Linked DNA regions of Homo sapiens: region 1 is linked to region 2. Evidence: promoter capture Hi-C in 16 types of primary human blood cells and fetal thymus (Javierre and others, 2016). All regions are on one chromosome and are shown on one strand. Each heading gives the region's core, a stretch centred on a gene start or on the middle of the fragment in contact. The rest is flanking DNA. Distances are from core to core; before and after follow the strand shown.

Evidence for each region. The method cuts DNA at HindIII sites, captures the fragments that hold promoters and counts their contacts. A CHiCAGO score of 5 or more calls a contact.
Region 1: a fragment that was not itself captured here is called in contact with the fragment with the promoter of UCN in region 2 in 3 of 17 cell types (M2 macrophages, M0 macrophages and M1 macrophages); the score reaches 7.3 in M2 macrophages.

Annotation. Positions count from the first base shown.
Region 1 is chr2:27,234,432-27,238,475 of GRCh38, forward strand. It overlaps CAD (carbamoyl-phosphate synthetase 2, aspartate transcarbamylase, and dihydroorotase), which reads left to right. Exons shown (of 44, transcript NM_004341.5): 23 at 87-254; 24 at 814-996; 25 at 1,105-1,209; 26 at 1,853-2,092; 27 at 2,318-2,399; 28 at 2,948-3,114; 29 at 3,287-3,451; 30 at 3,625-3,756; 31 at 4,000-4,044. Among named protein-coding and RNA genes, the nearest start is that of CAD, 19 kb to the left of the region's middle. The HindIII fragment of the contact is 1,738 bases long and covers 450-2,187 here.
Region 2 is chr2:27,306,634-27,311,319 of GRCh38, forward strand. It overlaps UCN (urocortin), which reads right to left and starts at 1,812. Exons shown (of 2, transcript NM_003353.4): 1 at 1,527-1,812; 2 at 767-1,275. The coding sequence starts at 1,262. The coding sequence ends at 888. It overlaps TRIM54 (tripartite motif containing 54), which reads left to right. Exons shown (of 9, transcript NM_187841.3): 9 at 254-802. MPV17 (mitochondrial inner membrane protein MPV17) reads right to left here. Exons shown (of 8, transcript NM_002437.5): 8 at 2,859-3,348. The coding sequence ends at 3,279. The HindIII fragment of the contact is 26,108 bases long and covers 1-4,686 here.

The DNA.
Region 1 (4,044 bases), core at 69-2,568, 73 kb before region 2:
TGAGGACGGAGAGGAAGAGTCTAGGCCTATAGATAGTGTCAGCAAGGCCAACCTGCAGAAGGCCTGACCAGTCTTCTCTGCCCCAGGATGACCAGCTGAAAGTTATTGAATGCAACGTACGTGTCTCTCGCTCCTTCCCCTTCGTTTCCAAGACACTGGGTGTGGACCTAGTAGCCTTGGCCACGCGGGTCATCATGGGGGAAGAAGTGGAACCTGTGGGGCTAATGACTGGTTCTGGAGTCGTGGGAGTAAAGGTAAGGAATATCGAAACCCTTGGGGTTAGCAGAAAAATAGCGGGAGAGAGTTCACTCACCACACAGAGTTGTCAGTATGTAAACCAGGCACTGACTGCAAGGCATTGCCGGATCGTGGGGGTAATGAGGTGGTCATTGTCCCTTAAGAGCTTACTTTATGGTAATGGGAGGGAAGAGAAGTTGGATCCCCAAAAAAGCTTTGGTATAGAACAGTCCGTGGTAAAACTACATATTCGACCTGTAAACAGAATGCTGCAGGAGTTCAAGAGACAGGAGGTGCTGCTTCCAAAAGGGGTGATCTGGGAAGGCTTGAGCGAAGGGGTGCTATTTGAATTGAGTTTTGAAGGATGGTTAAGGTTTTTTATTTGCAAGGGCACATCCTAAGCAGAAGCTGAGGGATGACCCCAAGTACGTTTGGAAAGCAGGAGGGCACACAGAGAGGGCAGGCTGACCCTGCCATTCAGATGGGATCAAGCACAGGGTACTGTGTCCGTCTCTGCTGGTGAGGGAGGAGGTCCTCTCACACCTTGGCCCTCTCTCTTCCCTCCCGCCCCTTTAGGTGCCTCAGTTCTCCTTCTCCCGCTTGGCGGGTGCTGACGTGGTGTTGGGTGTGGAAATGACCAGTACTGGGGAGGTGGCCGGCTTTGGGGAGAGCCGCTGTGAGGCATACCTCAAGGCCATGCTAAGCACTGGCTTTAAGATCCCCAAGAAGAATATCCTGCTGACCATTGGCAGCTATAAGGTATCAGAATCCAGGAGGGCTTCCCGAGGGCCGTGGCTCCCTGGGCCAGGGCTGACCTTGAAATGGAAGACAGGAAGAAAACAATTTCATCCTTCTGTTTGGTTTCAGAACAAAAGCGAGCTGCTCCCAACTGTGCGGCTACTGGAGAGCCTGGGCTACAGCCTCTATGCCAGTCTCGGCACAGCTGACTTCTACACTGAGCATGGCGTCAAGGTGCAGGAACTCTGGCAACCTACCCCACTGCTGCCCTTCCCCAAGGGGGTGAAAATACTGCACCAAAGAATTATCTGGGCTGGGCACGGTGGCATATACCTGTAGTCCCAGATACTCAGGAGGCTAAGGCAGGAGAATCTCTTGAGCCCAGGAGGTAGAGGCTGCAGTGAGCTGCGAGTGTGCAGTGAGTGCACCACTGCACTCCAGCTTGGGAAACAGTGAGATGCTGTCTCAAAAAAAAAAAAAACAAAGAATTATCTCCTATTCCCCTGCTTTTATTATTACCATTATACTAGTAAGCTATATTCCATGCAGAAAGCAGAATACACAGGAAGCAAAGAGAAAAGTCTCTTAAAATCTCTGTACCACTGTTCTGATATTTTTCCTTCCAGGATTTTCTCTGTGTACATGTGTGTGAGCTCATACTGCACCTAGTCCTTGGTAACCCATCTTACTTAGTGTAGATATCTTTCCTGCCAAGAAATACACTTTGCCAGTATCAAATAGAGGCAGCCCTCAGTGCCCACCCTATGGGTCCTCAGTCTCCTCATCATGGGCTCCTGGGCCAGCTCCTCTCCCTTAAGGCTAGCCTTCCTGACCGCTGCCAGACAGCTTGGCCCTGACCTTGACTCCGGGTTGGCAGGTAACAGCTGTGGACTGGCACTTTGAGGAGGCTGTGGATGGTGAGTGCCCACCACAGCGGAGCATCCTGGAGCAGCTAGCTGAGAAAAACTTTGAGCTGGTGATTAACCTGTCAATGCGTGGAGCTGGGGGCCGGCGTCTCTCTTCCTTTGTCACCAAGGGCTACCGCACCCGACGCTTGGCCGCTGACTTCTCCGTGCCCCTAATCATCGATATCAAGTGCACCAAACTCTTTGTGGAGGTAACTGAGACCCATGTGCTGGGAGGGAGACTGCCAGTGTTGATGGGAAGAAGAAAGAGGGAGGAGTGAGTATGGAACAGCCATGCTAGTAATAAAGCTTTGTGGCTACAGAGGGAGAGATGGTGGGTATAGAGTGTGCAGAGCCTGGTTTATGGGAAAACCACATCTCTCCCTACAACTCCCAGGATCACCCTTCCCTTAAAGCTGACTGCTTTCCACTTGCAGGCCCTAGGCCAGATCGGGCCAGCCCCTCCTTTGAAGGTGCATGTTGACTGTATGACCTCCCAAAAGCTTGTGCGACTGCCGGGTAAGTCTTTGGGGAGAACTTGGCTTCTGAACACTGGCAGCCCCTGGCATAGAGACCTGCAGTGTGGTGAAGGATGGCTGGGGGGCCCACTCTTTGTCCTGGACTGCACAGACTGTGAAGACCCCAGAATGTTTCTCACTCTTTCATTCCTTAATCCACAGTGTCCACAGTGGCCTTGTCTGAGGAATTTTTTTTTTTTTTTTTTTTTTGAGACAGAGTCTTACTCCATCGCCCAGGTTGGAGTGCAGTGGTGTGTGATATCGGCTCACTGCAACCTCCGCCTCCCAGGTTCAAGCGATTTTCCTGCCTCAGCCTCCCAAGTAGCTGGGATTACAGGTGTGTGCTACCACACCAGGCTAATTTTTGTGTTTTTAGTAGAGACGGGGTTTCACCATGTTGGTCAGGTTGGTCTCGAACTCCTGATCTCAGGTGATCTGCCCACCTCGGCCTCCCAAAGTGCTAGGATTACAGGCGTGAGCCACCATGTCCAGCTCACCCTTCCTATTTCTGAATCTTCCTGTAATCTTGCTGCTTCCATTTTCTCCCAGGATTGATTGATGTCCATGTGCACCTGCGGGAACCAGGTGGGACACATAAGGAGGACTTTGCTTCAGGCACAGCCGCTGCCCTGGCTGGGGGTATCACCATGGTGTGTGCCATGCCTAATACCCGGCCCCCCATCATTGACGCCCCTGCTCTGGCCCTGGCCCAGAAGGTGAGCCACTGCACTCTTCCTGGTATTGGAGACCCATATGCCCCTACCAGCCACCCTTGCTTCCCTGAGCCCTTTTCCTTCTGCCCCGCCCTATGGGCCCAGGCCACTGGTGCCAGGCTAGCCTGTGTGGGCATGGGTGCCAGTGAGCCTTACCTCTGTGTATCCTCTCCAGCTGGCAGAGGCTGGCGCCCGGTGCGACTTTGCGCTATTCCTTGGGGCCTCGTCTGAAAATGCAGGAACCTTGGGCACCGTGGCCGGGTCTGCAGCCGGGCTGAAGCTTTACCTCAATGAGACCTTCTCTGAGCTGCGGCTGGACAGCGTGGTCCAGTGGATGGAGGTAGGGAGTGTGCATGTGGCAGGAGGCCACCACCCAGTGTCTCCTGGCTTGTGGGCCCCTGCCTAAGTGGGCTGGTAGCAGTGAGGATTCAGGGGAGCTCCTGGGGACTCTGGGCTCTGATGAGCACAGTCAGAGATTCTGCACACTCCTTCATCAGTTCTTTCTGCTCCCAGCATTTCGAGACATGGCCCTCCCACCTCCCCATTGTGGCTCACGCAGAGCAGCAAACCGTGGCTGCTGTCCTCATGGTGGCTCAGCTCACTCAGCGCTCAGTGCACATATGTCACGTGGCACGGAAGGAGGAGGTAAGAGTACACCTGAGATCCTGCTGTCCCTGTTGCTTTCCCAGTAACACCAAAGGTCAGGGTAGTCCTTAGGGGCAGGAGACAGCAGGAGGAGAGTCTGGAGACAGCAGGAGGAGGGTCTCGAGCCAGCACCCTTGCAGGTCTACATCATCATTTTTTGAGCAGGGATGTTGGCCATTGGGACTTTGTGTAGGGCAAGGCATATGGGTGGTGCCTCTTCTGGATCTTCCCATTGTTCCCCAGATCCTGCTAATTAAAGCTGCAAAGGCACGGGGCTTGCCAGTGACC
Region 2 (4,686 bases), core at 562-3,061:
ATTGCCCTCCCTGCGGGTAGCGTGGAGCCCCCACTCCTCGGTGCAACCCAACCCCGGAGCCACAAAGGCGCGCCCCCTAGGGCGGAAAAGTACACTTTCCTCCTCACCCGCTGTTCCTCTGGGGTGCTGGGAGGGCAGGCAAGGCAGGCTGAGTAGAGGAGAAACCCACGTGGCGGGGGACGGAGTGAGCGGGGCTCGAGCTGCCTCGTGCCTTCGCAGCACCCGCCCACCGAGCCTTCTTTCCCGGGCACAGGCCTGCGCCGACCCGACCCTGCTCGAGAGCCCGCGCTAGAGTCGGGGAGGATCTGCGCAGAGACCGCAGCATCACCCAAATCGGCGCCGGCCCCGGGAGGATCTCAATAAAGAACTCGAGCGTCCCAGACCCGTATCTCCTTTCGCTGCCCAACCCCGCAGCCTGGGCTTCGAAGGCGACCCGCCCACCATCCTGCCCTTCCCAGAACCTGAGACCGTCTGGGGGGCGGAAGCCAAATGAACCCCTATTGGGCACCTCTGTGATGCCAGGAGCGAACTGGTGAGCCCAGCGCCCTGGGAAGAGGGCCGAGGGCGGGGCGGTGGTGCCGGGACCTCTGAGGTCCTGGGGATTTGGGGACCCTTGGGGTCCACATGCACCTGGCTGACCTGGCTGAAAGCCGCTGTCTCGGAGCCCCCCACAGCATTTTGTTCCCCTCCCGCTGGCCCGGGGGCCCCACCTTCCCACGGGTTCCCACGCTGCTGTGACTGCCCTGCCTCTACGACAAAAGCCAACGGGTCTTCAGTACTTTTATTAAAAAATAGTCACGCAGACAGTGCCCTGGTGGCTCTGCCCCGCATCCCAACTCTGGGGTGGGGGAAAGGGGTCAACGTTTTCGCAGCCCCAAACCGGGCCATCACTTGCCCACCGAGTCGAATATGATGCGGTTCTGCTCGGCGCGCTCCCGCTGGCTCTGCGTCCGCGCCAGCTCCAGCAGGGTCCGCAGCAGGTGAAAGGTGAGGTCAATGGACAGAGAAGGGTTGTCCCGCCGCGGCCGCTCGCCTGCCGTCCCGAGTCCCAATCGGCCGGGCCCCGCGCGGCGCGGGAAGCGCTCCGCCAGCAGCAAGAGGAGCGCGCGGGCCCCGCCACCCTGGTTCCGTGCCCCGGGGCTCCAGCGCAGACTCGGGTCCTGGACCCCGGCCGCCTCGGGGCTCCTCTGGCTGCTCCCAGGGCACAGCTGTACCAGGAGCAGCAGCGCGGCCAGCAGCGCTGCGCGTCCCGCCTGCCTCATGGTGCCGCCGGCCCTGGACACACAGGGGCAGCGCAGGGTGAGGTGCGCCTGGGACAGCTGCAGGCCGCCGCTCCCCTCCCCGCGCTCGCCCGGCGACCCCTCCGGCCGCCGCCCAATGCCCGCAGCCTGCCCTCCAGCCCCAGCCACTGCGCCAGTGCTGTTCCATCCCTTCCACCCAGCCTCCCTCCCCGGAGGAGCGTGGTGGCTGAGCTGAGCGGAGTCCTGGTGCAGGGGGAGGCTGGGCGGACGCTCTGAGCCACTCACAGGTTGTCGGCGAGCGTCTGTACGGTCCAAGATTGAGCTCCAGTCTCTGTCCCTCGGGGCAGGCTGAAGACGCCTTGGGGAACACAGGGTCTGTCCCGGGGCTGTCGCCAGCCTTATATAGTGCCAGGACAGCTCCGACTGACGTCAGCGAAGAACATGCACTGATTGTAGAAGCAATGACAGCCACAGCTTCGAGTCTGACGGCTGGCGGGCCCCCGGAGGGGCGCACCTCCCTACACCAGCCTTCGTGCCCCTGGGGCTAGCGCTGGAAGCAGCACTGGACGCAGGAAAGCGAGAAGCCGGCTGGGGCGTAAAGACTGCTCTGGGACCCACGGGAGTCCCTCGCCCCGCTTAGAACAGCCAGCAATGACTAGGGCCGTCCCCAGACCAGACTAGTCCGGGTCGCGTGTTCTGACACACGAAAGGGAGGCGGGACCGTGAGGCTGTCCATGGTGCTGACCCCGTCCTCTGCCTCTAGAAGTGGCCAGAAATGTGAGAACGCTGTGCCGCTGGAACCCACTGCCTCCCTGCAGCTATCAGTTCTGCAAATGCAGGCATCAGGAGTCCACCGCTGGCACTCAGCCAACACAGTGGGACCCACTGAGAGGCAGTCTGCCACAACCAAAGTCTCCCAGCATTCTTATCTTTTTCCAGCCCCAGGATCCAAATTGTAGGGCTGTCTGACAGGCACCATGTAACAGAGGGTCTCTAGCATCCGAGTGCTTTCAGACCACAAATGGCTGGCCCATCTGCTTTTGAGTTTGCCAAAGTAGTTTAGCAAAGTTCAGTTTCTCTCCTGGGAATCATAGCAGCAGTGTAACTCTGCCCATGAGCAGCAAAGAAATATGGGTTCAAGTTTCTGCTAACTCCTGGTGTGGACAGGTCACCTCCCTCCTACCAACCTCAGGGTCCTCATTTGTAAGACTGGGCTTGGCCAGGCGCGGTGGCTCACGCCTGTAATCCCAACACTTTGGGAGGCCGAGGCAGGCGGATCACGAGGTCAGTAGTTTGAAACCAGCCTGGCCAATATGGCGAAACCCCATCTCTACTAAAAATACAAAAATTAGCCGGGCGTGGCGGTATGCGCCTGTGGTCCCAGCTACTCAGGAGGCTGAGGCAGGAGAACTGCTTGAACCCAGGAGGCGGAAGCTGCAGTGAGGCAAGATCGCGCCACTGCACTCCAGCCTGGGAGACAGAGCAAGACCCTGTCTCAAAAAAAAAAAAAAAAAAAAAAAAAAAAATTGGGCTTGGTGGTCTCTTGGCTTCTTTCCAGCTCTAGAAATGACTCCCCAATAGTTTTCTGCTTAAAAACTTACTCATTACCACTGCAGATTCCGGATTACATATTTAATAACATATTTACTGAGGCACCATATAAAGGGTTCCGGGAGTCTCTAAAGAGCTGGAGCTACAAGAAGCCTAGGCAGGGTTAGAGTAACAAATGTGTCTATGAAGAGTGGGGATGAGTGGCATTTGCTGGGATATGGGTGTAAAGTTGATAAGGTCATGAAGGTTCAACAGATATTTATGGAGTGCCTAGTATGTGGTGGGAATAAGACTATTATCAAGGGCTCTAAAGCAGTCAGTGTACATTTTAGAGTGAAGAGGGGCATTGCAGGGTGCTAGTCCTCTTAAGCTCTGACCGGCAACCCAACCCCGTGGAAACTGGTATGCCCACTTTGAGGAGGTTGTCTGACCGTTCCAGGGTCAAGCTGCATCACTGCAAGGTGGAAACGATGGAGTGAGGCAGGCTTAGAGCCGATGTGCCTTCCAGGACAGGTAGGAGTTCCAGATAACAGCAACACATTGGACAACGGCCAACCTAAGGAACAGGAATAACACAATGAAGAGGAGGAAGGCTAAGCAGTGAGCAAGGGCTGGAGATGGGAGCATGAAATGGCAAAGGAGGGATCATGACAAAGGATTGGCAGGTTTAGGTCTCTTTCCTTCAGCACCTTTTTTTTGAGATGGAGTCTCCTCTGTTGCCCAGGCTGGAGTGCAGTAGCACAATCTTGGCTCACTGCCTCCCGGGTTCAATCAATTCTCGTGCCTCAGCCTCCCAAGTAGCTGGGACTACAGGTGTGCTCCACCACACCTGGCTAATTTTTGTATTTTTAGGAGAGACAGGGTTTCACCATGTTGGCCAGGCTGGTCTCGAACTCCTGACCTCAAGTGAGCCACCCACCTCGGCCTCCCAAAGTGCTGGGATTACAGGTGTGAGCCACGACACCCAGCCCTTTCAGCACCCTATGAAGGGCCTGTGTGGCTTGCACTAAAGGACAACTGGCTCAAATTCTAGTGCCATCCCAGAGCTCTGTTTCCTGGCTGAGAGCCTCAAAGGCTAAATATTCAGCGGCTCTCTTGCCATGCATAGCTCTGTTAATCACAGAAAGGGCCCCTATCTGGGCCCCTTCTAAGTTCATTGATCTGTCTTGTACCAGCTGAGATTTCATCTTCCGAAATGTACGGACTATCATATAAAGTAGCATCTTTCTGTTTTAAATTAACCTTGCTCTGGTTTCAAAGAGTGTTGCAAAGGACCCTAATGTTTAGGATTTGGTTCATAAGTCTGTATTCCTTTTTTGTTTTTTCGGGTTTTTTTTGAGACGGAGTCTCGCTCTGTTGCCCAGGCTGGAGTGCGGTGGCAAGATCTTGGCTCACTGCAACCTCCGCCTCCCAGGTTCAAGCGATTCTCCTCCCTCAGCCTCCCGAGTAGCTGGGACTACAGGCACCTGCCACCACACCCAGCTAATTTTTGTATTTTTAGTAGAGACAGGGTTTCAACATATTGGCCAGGCTGGTCTCGAATTCCTGACCTTGTGATCCACCTGCCTCAGCCTCCCAAAGTGTTGGGATTACAGGCGTGAGCCACTGTGTCCAGCCTTTTTTTTTTTTTTTTTTTTTTTTTTTTTTGGAGACAGGGTCGTCTCACTCTGTCACCAGGCTGAAATGCAGTGGCACAATCTCAGTTCACAGCAACCTCCATCTCACAGGCTCAAGTGATCCTCCCACCTCAGCCTCCCGAGTAGCTGGGACTACGGGCACATGTTACCATGTGACTGGCTAATTTTTTGTATTTTCTGTAGAGATGAGGTCTCACTATATTGCCCAGGCTGGTGTGAAACTCCTGGACTCAAGCAAACCTCTTGCCTCAGCCTCC